2 separate regions of the Homo sapiens genome follow, and region 2 is linked to region 1. The links are contacts of gene promoters, found by promoter capture Hi-C in blood cells and fetal thymus (Javierre and others, 2016). All regions are on one chromosome and are shown on one strand. Each heading gives the region's core, a stretch centred on a gene start or on the middle of the fragment in contact. The rest is flanking DNA. Distances are from core to core; before and after follow the strand shown. Region 1 holds the start of SOD1 (superoxide dismutase 1). Region 2 overlaps USP16 (ubiquitin specific peptidase 16).

Region 1 (5,403 bases), core at 1,081-3,580:
GAAGGCTCAGTATGAAGAGATCTCCAAAAATTCTTCAAGAGAAGCTAGGAAAACTGGATTAATACGTGAAAAATTCTGATCTGTAAAAACTAGCAAAGAGTCCAAGATTTTAAACACGGAATAGGCCAAGCCAAGTAGCTGATAGCCAATGTATTATCTCTGCATATCTGGAAAGCTGGAATGCTCCACTATCCAAGGCTCATTCTCAGGTACAACGGGCACCAAACAAAACGAAGTCAGGCGCTTAAAAGAAGGAACTATGCAAGCTGCTCAGGGAAGGTGGAAAACCTGGGTTCATGCATGGATTCTCAATGGCCAGGGAGAAGGGATTCCTCAGAGGCGTCTTAAGAATAGCACTGGTGGCCGGGCGGGGTGGCTCACGCCTGTAATCCCAGCACTTTGGGAGGCCGAGGCGGGTGGATCACGACGTCAACAGATCGAGACCATCCTGGCCAACATGGTGAAACGCCGTCTCTACTAAAATATAAAAAATTAGCCAGGCGTGGCGGCGCGCGCCTGTAGTCCCAGCTACCCGGGAGGCTGAGGCAGGAGAATTGCTTGAACCTGGGAGGCGGAGGTTGCAGTGAGCTGAGATCGCGCCACTGCACTCCAGCCTGGGCGACAGAGCGAGACTTGGTCTGAAAAACAAAACACTAGTACTGGTGAATTATGTGGGGAGAAGTAAAGAGGGACAAAAAGAAGTCTGACAAATGAAACAGCAAAATGGAGTCAAATGCCAAAGAACCTTTTCCAGAAAATCTGGAGACCTATTAAAGAAAAAGGCTAAACTCATTATCTCCCTCACATATATTTCAGACATTTACACAGACTAACTGTTCCTGTCCTCTCACGTTTCTGTAAACCCCTTTAAAGACTGAATCTCATTCGTATAGTAAATATTCCCTCATGATTTTTAAGCCGAGTGCAAGAGAAAATTTTCCACCAGTTGGTAACTTCACTAAGGTTCTGGGGACAGTGTTATCACAAGCACCTTCCTTGCAACACGTTTTGTAATTTTACTGATAAAAGTTCTGAAAATATTTCTGTATATTTTACAAGAGTCGTTCAGAAGTTTGTCTCTGACCATCTTAGCAACCTGCCTACTGGCAGAGCAATTTTAAAGCCACTTTACGAAAATGTGGCTTAAGAAATGCTCCGACAACAGTTATTAAGTGCCAATTCGGTGTAATGGAAACTCCAGGTCTTCTAATTTCCAAATACGAAACTCCACCCACTGTCCTCAAACGACAGTTCTCAATCGTAGGTGCACATCAAAATCACTTTTGGAAACTTTCAAAAAACAGCAATACTCACCCTGCACTAGGACAGGTTTTGATGTAATTGGTCGGAGGTTGGGCTCTGGTGTATTTTTAGTAAGATCTTCAAATAAGCTAACTGTGCACCCAAAGTTAAGATCACTGCCCTCAAAAATCCCCAAAAGGGTCAGTTAAACCTCTGGCTCCCGGAGCTTAGGAGGAGGAAAAGGACCTCTGTTCAAGGCTACCTTCTCTGCCCTTGCAGCCCAATCATGACCTAGAACAGAGGCCAGCAAACTTCCCTGCAAAGTGTCACACAAACGGTCTCTGTTGCGTATTTTTGTTTTCCAAAGCCTTTTAAAAATATAAAAACCATTCCTAGCCTTAGAGCTGTACAAAAGCGAAGACTCCCTGACCTAGAGCGCTGAAGCCGGAAAGCGGAGAGGGATGCGAAGACACCAGGCGGGCCCAGGCGCAGTCGCCATCCCCGGGCTGGGCCTGGCACTGCGCCACTCGGTGTCCGCGGGACCCTCAGGAACGAGAACACGGCCAAGCAAGGGACGAGCACAGCCGCTCCAGGCACCACGACAGACCCGCGGCGGCGGCCCAAGGACCACAGAGGGCAGCACGCCCGCCCCCGCCCCTCCCCGGCCCGCGGCAATCCCTCCCCGCGCTCCCGCCACGCGCAGGCCCAGCCCCGCGGCGGCCTCGGTCCCACGCCCCGCGCCCGGGCCCGCCCGGTGACTCAGCACTTGGGCACCGCACCGCTGGGGGCGAAGGCACCGACCGGGCGGCACGGGCCGGGACCGGGCGCTGGACCAGGGCGGCCCCGAGGCCTGGCGGGCGACCCGCTCCTAGCAAAGGTGCGCGGGGGGACGAGCGGGTGGGAGCGGCCTCGCAAACAAGCCTCCGTCCCAGCCCTTGCCTTCTGCTCGAAATTGATGATGCCCTGCACTGGGCCGTCGCCCTTCAGCACGCACACGGCCTTCGTCGCCATAACTCGCTAGGCCACGCCGAGGTCCTGGTTCCGAGGACTGCAACGGAAACCCCAGACGCTGCAGGAGACTACGACGCAAACCAGCACCCCGTCTCCGCGACTACTTTATAGGCCAGACCTCCGCGCCTCGCCCACTCTGGCCCCAAACCAATCGCCTCGCACGCGCTCAGCCCGCCCCCTGCGGCAGCCTCGGGTCGCGAGTGGCCGGGAATGACTGGGGGCGGGGCCAAGGGGCCGCGTGCGCCGGAGACTCCCCCCGCCCCGCAGCCGGGAAACGTCCAGAACCCCGAAATGTGGAGAAAACAACCTTCTTTTCACGGGGGCGTGGCCCGCCGGTTGCAGTACGCGAAATTGGCAAAATGATGTAAACAGGGTACGCTTTGAAAATCTGAAGTCACTTTGTCTAGAAATGTCATTAGTTATGACTGAGTTTGGCCACAGCGTCTCATTTGTTACTCAGCAATTGGGACGCCCCAAGATGGATGCTTTTGTAGTTTTCATTTTTTTGTCTTGTTTTTTAGTTTTCTGAGGGTATAGAAAGTCGCTACACCTCAATCCCGGGACTTACCTTTTCTTCCCCTGCAATTTTCTTAGTCCTTAGTATAGAGTTTCTTATTTGGTTGGCAGAATTCGGTATTCTTTTTATATTTTTCCTGTTTGGCAAGGCCACAACCCTACAGATAACCAAACGGCAACTAGTTGGCTTCTAGGCATCACCTGCGTTTTTGTCTGGCCTAAAGGCCACAACACTCAAGGAGGGTAGAATGGTGAAATAATTTATGATGCCTCCATACAACAGGAATGATAAATATGACTTACCTTTCAAGGGAAATATTTCAAAAACATATTGTGAAATGAGAAAATAGTGCAAACTACTTTTGTCCGGGGCGAGGGGGTTGTTTGTTTGATTTTTGAGACAGGGTCTCGCTCTGTCACCCAGGCTGGAGTGCAGTGGCGCCATCATAGCTCACTGCAGCCTCCACCTCCTGGGTTCAAGCCATCCTCCTGCCTCAGCCTCCCAAGTACCTGGGACCACAGGCATGTGCCACCACACCTGGCTGATTTTTGTATTTTGGGTACAGATGGGGTTTTACCATGTTGCCCAGGCTGGTTTCAAACTCCTGAGCTCAAGCCAGCCATCTACCCACCTCGGCCTCCCAAAGTGCTGGGATTACAGACATGAGCCACCACGTCCAGCCTAGTACTTAATATTGAGTATGGCAAAATACTGAGACTTAATTGAAGTCCAGTGTGAAACAACAATAGAAGCTATTCCAGCCTCGTTTGGAGTACACTACTATCGATTTATTTACTTATTTATTATTTACGCTATTTAGACCCTCAGACTCTAATGCATCCTCTATCAGAGAAATACAATTCACATTTTTTTATCATCCTCTAGGAAGTATACATATTTGCAGTTTTGCCTGTTGTATTTGGTAGTAGTCTCCAGATAATTCGTATATTCTAAACGGTTGCATAAACAGTGCAAATGCTGGCCAAAGGGCCTTTGCCCAAGGCTAAAGTTTCTTTGGGTTCCAGGAAGTTCGGCAGATTTCAGTTCATTGTAAACTTGCCAAGGGATCCGCCCACAGACACGAGAGAGCTGCTTTGGGACAGTGAATTACTCTTCTTTTGAGACGGTCTAATGATGCCTGGGTGGTGCCTTCGTAGGATGGTCGTCACACCTGAACAAGGGGGTCCCTGGCCCCAGGCCCCATGCTTTACTGGGCCCTGTTCTGTCCCTCTTCTGGCATCATCTCCCATGGAGAAAAGAATGTGTTGAAGCCAAGAAGATGCTCCCCCCGCAAGAATATCATCTCTGCTAGAACAGGGGTAAGGAATTTAACTCTGTGATATTTAAGAGTATTTATATCTTCCTAATGCAGGGCATCGAATGTGGGCACTATGGACATTTTGGGCCAGACAGTTCTTTGCTGTGGAGGCTGTCCTGTACACTGTAGGATGTTCAGTAGAATCCCTAGCCCCTACTCACTAGATGCCAGTAATACCCTGTCCCTCCCTGCCAGGCTGGGATAACCAAAAATAATTCCAGACGTTGCCAAATCACTCCCAGTTAAGAATCACTGTTTTTATTTATTTATGTATTTATTTTGATATGGAGTCTCACTCTGTCACCAGGCTGGAGTGCAGTGGTGCAATCTCAGCTCACTGCAACCTCCGCCTGCTGGGTTCAAGTGATTCTCCTGCCTCAGCCTCCCGAGTAGCTGGGACTACAGGCGTGCACACCATGCCTGGCTAAGTTTTTGTATTTTTAGTAGAGATGGGGTTTCACCATGTTGGCCAGGCTGGTCTCGAACTCCTGACCTCAAGTGATCTGCCAGCCTCGGCCTCCCAAAGTGCTGGGATTACAGGTGTGAGCCACCACACCCGGCCAAGAACCACTGTTTAGAACACCACTTGAGTACCCGGATCCTGGAATTTCCTGCCCAAAGAGCCCTGAGCCTGTGTATAGGATCCTGAACAGGCCACACAGGGACTGTCCCTTGTTGAGTACACTGCTAGCCTTGAACGTAGGCCCTGCCCAGTGCCACAAGGAGCAGGGGTGGGGAAAGGAGGAAAGGCCAGGGGCGGGCAGGCAGCCAGCTCTCCACTGCTACCCTTCTACGTAGAACTGAAAGAAGTCCAAGAATTCCACATTTCAACCTGCCTTCCAGGTCTTTATGAAGGTATATTTGTTAAGACAGGATGATAGAGCCTTGGTTGTTTGGAACCCTGGAACGTGGGTTGAATCTGGCACATGTAATTAGCCGGGCATGGTGGTACACCCCTGTAGTCCAAGCTACTTGGGAGGCTGAGGTAGGAGGATCGCGTGGGCCCAGGAGGTTGAGGCTGCAGTGAGTTGTGATCGCACCATTGCACTCCAGCCTGGGCAACAGAATGAAATCCTGTCTCAACAATAATCATCATCATCATCGTGGAGTATCTAACTTAAATAAAATAAAATAGGGAAATCAGATGAGAGGGACCTTTGCACTTGAACCCCAGGGTTTAAAGAAGCAGAACAGGCAAACCCTGTCAGAAAGAAGAAAAGAGAGTGAGAGAGAAAGAGAAAGAAAGAGAAAGAGAGAAAGAAAAAGAAAGAGAAAGAAGAAGGAAGGAGGGAGGGAGGGAAGAAAGGGAGGAGGG
Region 2 (5,152 bases), core at 1,279-3,778, 2.6 Mb after region 1:
TAGTTCCTTAGTTCTAGCTCTAACATTCTAACATTCAAGACTGATAAAAGATACCAGAGTAGCAAACTGGGAGAGAAAATGCATGTAACTTGTTTTGTGAACTCTAAGACTGAACTCCTTTGATATTTTAAAAACAAAAGAAAAACCTCAGGAAAATATTTCAAACAAAATCTTCCTTTTATTTTCCTATGCTCCCAGAAATAATCTTGATAAGTTTAATATAACTAAAAGCCATAATTTTACTACTTGATCAGCCAATTTTCCAAATACGTGAAACCTATAAGCATTATTCAAATGATAATTTATGCAGAACCACACTTTTCTGACAGAAAATGCCAGCAGGGGTAATTCTCTCCATTACTGGCCAGGCTCTAAAGGGCACCAAGGAGGCAAAGAGTTGCTATGAGTTGATTCAAATCTGTGCTTTATAATACAGTGCCCTTAGTCACTTACGGCTATTTAAATTTAATTACAATTAAATAAAAATAAAAATGTAGTTCCTCAGTTTCACCAGTCACATTTCAGGCGCCACACGTGCCTAGTTGCTTCTATATGGAACAGCAAAGGTATAGAGGAGTTCCATCAACATAGGAAGTTCTACTGGGCAGATCTGCCCTAAATCTTTACACGCCACATAATAAGAACTAAGTTGGCTCCATGATTAATAAACCAACTACTGACAACTCACAGTAACAAATATAATTCATGTATTACTGCTAATTATAATTTTAAGCTTTTGAAAAGTAAAACTGTAATTCATCATAGTTCTATCTTTAATACATAAAAAGAATACACCATGGGGTAAAACTGTTCACTTCTGGAGCACTGAATAATTTTTACTAATCAACGTTGATAAAGAGAAATTATACATTAATAATTGTGGACTTGGAAATATATGTGCCAGCAATCTTGTCCTAAGGTACAGAGGAATTCAACTATAGTGTTTTAGTTCAAAAAGTCAGACATTACCTTTAACTTTATTTTTTAGTTCTTCATCCAACTTTTCAGTAGAATTACCAAATGCTTTAAGTATTCCTTTACTCACTCTCTAAAAGTAATAAAATGGATATATATATACTATTAAATTTTAAATTTTATTTTCCTTAGAAATATGTAATCAAGTCAAGAAAGTGATCAGGATACAGCTCCCCATATTTACTAAATAATTCCAAAATCACATTTTCAAACTTAATTCAAGGAGCTAAAAAGGAATTATGTCACAAAGCAATCACTAACCATTGAATAAAGGTATTATCTTATCATTTCAAGATCTTAAACCTCTTCAAGCCAAAGGTTTTCAGAACATGCCCACCACCTTTGAGAAGAAACTGAAATAGCTTGTCCTACAAGCACAATGATTACATGACAGCCACAGGGTCTGACTCCAGTGCTTAAAGCCCAGCTCCATTATTTCTGGGGGACCTTAAACTAGGTACTGAACTTCTCTACAGCCTAGATTCTCAATCTATGGAATAGGAAAAAATCACAGTATCCACCTCACAGAAACTTTGTGAGAACGAAGTAAGGGAATTAATACAAAACACTGAAAACAGTGATTGGCATAAAAATAAGTGCGAAATAAATATTAGTTATTATCACTATTATTAGTACTCATTAATTCATACCCCAAATACATTTTTTTATATCCTGGCAAGTAACAAAAATTTTAAAATGCAACCAATGTTCCCTGACTCTTACAAAATGAAAATACTTCCTAGGTTCAAAAAACAGTATTAAATCAGACTCAGAATTAAAAGTAAGGGTGTGCTGCACCTGGGTTTGGGAGAAACAATTTCCAATATTTGGCAGCTCTCTTCGTATAGGTTAGTACAACAGAATCTTTAAAGAACATTAATGCTGTAAACATCAACTAAACTTAAGCCATCATGAGAAAGAGAATTACTGCTAATTCTCTGGATTCATTCTAATGGTGAAAACATACTAGTTGAAAAAGCTGGTGTAAGAAAAAATTTTAAAGTATGATGGCCTTAATAACTAGCTTTCATTGTTTTAACTCGTAAGATATCAAATGAGACAGAAAGCTTATGAAGATAAGATCATAAAATACAATGGTCATAACATGCTAACTTGGTGTTCTTCTGCTCTCATCCCATCCAATAAGTAGCGAAGCAGCTCCTGGCTGTCTTGCTGCTGATAGCCTTTAAACCGCACTGCTCTAGAGAAAAACAAAAAGACAGAAAAGCAATCTTCAGTCTACTAAGCTCTGAAGCTATTTTTAGAAAATCTTAGGATCATATCCCAAATCTCAGAGAGTTCTGGTTTCTACAAATTTCCGTTTAGTCCATTAACACCCTTGGGAGATTTAACTATCACATAAAATATATTTTAAAATCCAAATGAAAAAAAACTATGCCTTTTGTATATAGAGGGTTGACTAAATGTAATGCTATTAATATTTTTATATTTTACTATTTAATATTAATATTATTTCTCAGCATCTCACTGAGGCACTGAAAGCACAATCGAAGTGGATACTCACTTTTTACAGACCTGAGAAAAGAGTTCTTTCGGTGTCACAACCCCCTTTTTGGTCTCTTGCATCTCATTAAGAAACTGGCTCATGGCTAAAGTAAGAGGGCCTGGAGGCTCAAGGTTTATTTCTAATGGTTCCTGAATATGGGAAAAGAAATTACTTTCTTCAGTCAAATTCTGGAATCACTGACTTTACTAAAATCTAATTAGTTAACATATACTACCAATGTTCCTGACAGAACTGCCCCATTTAAAAGTTTAAAATGTACATCAAAAGAGATAGAAACTGTTTGGTCACAGACTGTCTTATGCAGAATTCAGCTCTACTATTTTAGTTTTAGATTATCTGGAACACTTACTACCTAAGAATTGAAAGAGCCAAAGCAAAATGTAAATAATAAAAATGGATAAGGTAATATTTATTTGGTTACACAGCTCTTAAGTCACCTTAAAGATGTTAAAAATAATAATGTAAGCCTAAGGCTTCTCAAACATATACACATTCCCAAGAAGGAAGCTTAACACTCGAGCATAGAAAAACAGAGCACACACACAGCAAACAGATGTAATGCCTCCTTATAACTTCTATTAGCCTGAAACTGTTTAAGTTAGTAGCCTAAAGTAAAACAAAACAAACAAAAACAGTGGAAATGAGTGTCAGTTATTTAAAATAATTTAGAAAACACACATTCAGAGAGGAAAGTTACAGACTAGAAAAGTTTAAAGAACATACTGTTAATGCCAAATCAGGTGGTTCAATTTTTACAATTGTTCCAGACATTTTCACTTCTTTTAGTAGTTCTCTAAGCACTGGTGTTTGTGACAAGTTCTAGAATGTAGGGTGAAAAAAAAAGAGAAAAATTATTTAAAGGCAAATCAACTCTGACACTTCTTAAGTGTCTATTCTATCAAAACAGAAAATCATGACCAACACTGAAAACTCTATACTTGGAAAATGAAAAGTTACAGATGCTTCTCTCCCTACTCTATTTGGGTCATAACTACTTCAGTTCTGAGCTTATTCATCACCTCAGTGGGGCATTCTCCCACCACCCAATCAGAAGTAGCTATCCCCAATCCTCCACCATGACTCTCTCACAACCACTTACCACTACCTGTAGGTACGTATTTGCTTCTATATGAGGTTATCCTGTGTTTCCTCCACCCAAGTGCAAGCTCCATGAAAGAAGCAGCAATATTTCTTTCAAACCCACTGCACCCGAGTGCTCACCAAACTCTCTTACTGTCATGCAATAAAACTTTCCTTAAGTTTTCTTTGGCCAGGCATGGTGGCTCACGCCTGTAATCCAAACACTTTGGGTGGCCAAAGGGGGTGGACGGCTTAAGCCCAGGAGTTCAAGACTAGCCTAGGCAACATGGCGAAACCCTGTCTCTACAAAAGATACAAAAACTAGCTGGGAGTGGTGGCGCATGCCTGTAGTCCCAGCTACTCTGGAGGCTAAGGTAGGAGGACTGCTTGAGCCCAAGAGGTAGAGGCTGCAGTGAGCCACGATCGTGCCACTGCACTCCAGCCGAGTGACAGAGTGAGACCCTGTCTCAAAAAAAAAAAAAAAAAAAAAAAAAGTTTTCTTTGGATACATAGAAATAAATTACTCAGGTGGAAAAAACTCAATAATGTAAGTAGCAGATTCTATGAGGAAAAGGACAGCTTTTTTAAAGGGAAAAAAATGACAATGTACCTGCATAACTGCATTGAAGAAACATGTGTTTCCCAAATTACTGAGTCCTTTCACGGTTATTTGGCAAGGAGAATTCATGGGAGGATTCTCTTTAGCCATGTTTTCCTTCTTTTCTCTCTCTTGTTCATTCTTACTCTCTTTTTCTAATTTTTTATTTTCAAGTTCAATATTTCCATTATCTTTCTCTGCTTTAAAAAAAGAAAAGATTTAGCAAAATGTGTAATACAGTCATATCGAATGCAGAAGTATACTTGGGAAACAGTACTAGAGTTTGTGAGTTTACCTGAAGTCATTCTTTCCAACCCACCCACCCATTTGATTTTAAATAGATACAGGTAAATTGCCATCCAGAAAAAAAACACAAAACCCAGTAAACAAAAAATACTCAGACCTAAAGTAAGCATTAGTTTGATAAATGAAACCAAACAGTATGTGCTTTGGTATAAATCTCCCTTTTTTACTGCACGAAAATTCTTTACAAATGAACACATCTTACCTTGTGAAATTAAGAATATAAAACAATCAAGAACATGGACATGAAATAAATTTTTTAATGAATTCTGTGGGTCAAAAATCAATCCTAAAGTAAAAAACAAATAATTCTGGCTCTGACAAAGATACTTGTGACAATAAAAACTTAAAAAACATGCTTAAAGCAAATGCTGTATGTCAGCCAATTAATTTAATTATGCATGGAAAGAACCTAAGAAATATCTGACCATTAGAAGGAATCACAAATGCTTTATGTTATCCCAGCAGACAGACTGAAATCTTGCTATTACAAAATGTACGACAGTAAGAACAGTGTAAGGCAGGTCTATAGTAAGCCTGGCTAGGGTTATGGGAATTACCTTAGTCTTAGCATTAATGGCCATTACCTTAGTCTATGGCCTTCATCACATCTGACTAGATCATTTCTCATATCCCTTCTAATACCTTATAGTTAAACCAAAAATAGT

What was found. Contacts are between HindIII fragments. The CHiCAGO score rates a contact against its expected background, and 5 or more counts as called.
Region 2: a fragment that was not itself captured here is called in contact with the fragment with the promoter of SOD1 in region 1 in 1 of 17 cell types (erythroblasts); the score reaches 6.5 in erythroblasts.

What each region holds. Positions count from the first base shown.
Region 1 is chr21:31,656,620-31,662,022 of GRCh38, reverse strand. SOD1 (superoxide dismutase 1) reads right to left here and starts at 2,330. Exons shown (of 5, transcript NM_000454.5): 1 at 2,182-2,330. The coding sequence starts at 2,253. SOD1-DT (SOD1 divergent transcript) reads left to right here and starts at 1,999. Exons shown (of 3, transcript NR_187558.1): 1 at 1,999-2,626; 2 at 3,928-4,089. RefSeq lists enhancers at 1-478, 479-988, 1,488-1,687 and silencers at 1,848-2,127, 2,398-2,717. The HindIII fragment of the contact is 11,893 bases long and covers 1-5,403 here.
Region 2 is chr21:29,036,505-29,041,656 of GRCh38, reverse strand. USP16 (ubiquitin specific peptidase 16) reads right to left here. Exons shown (of 18, transcript NM_006447.3): 6 at 4,194-4,381; 7 at 3,227-3,322; 8 at 2,501-2,631; 9 at 2,089-2,176; 10 at 970-1,048. Among named protein-coding and RNA genes, the nearest start is that of USP16, 14 kb to the right of the region's middle. The HindIII fragment of the contact is 968 bases long and covers 2,045-3,012 here.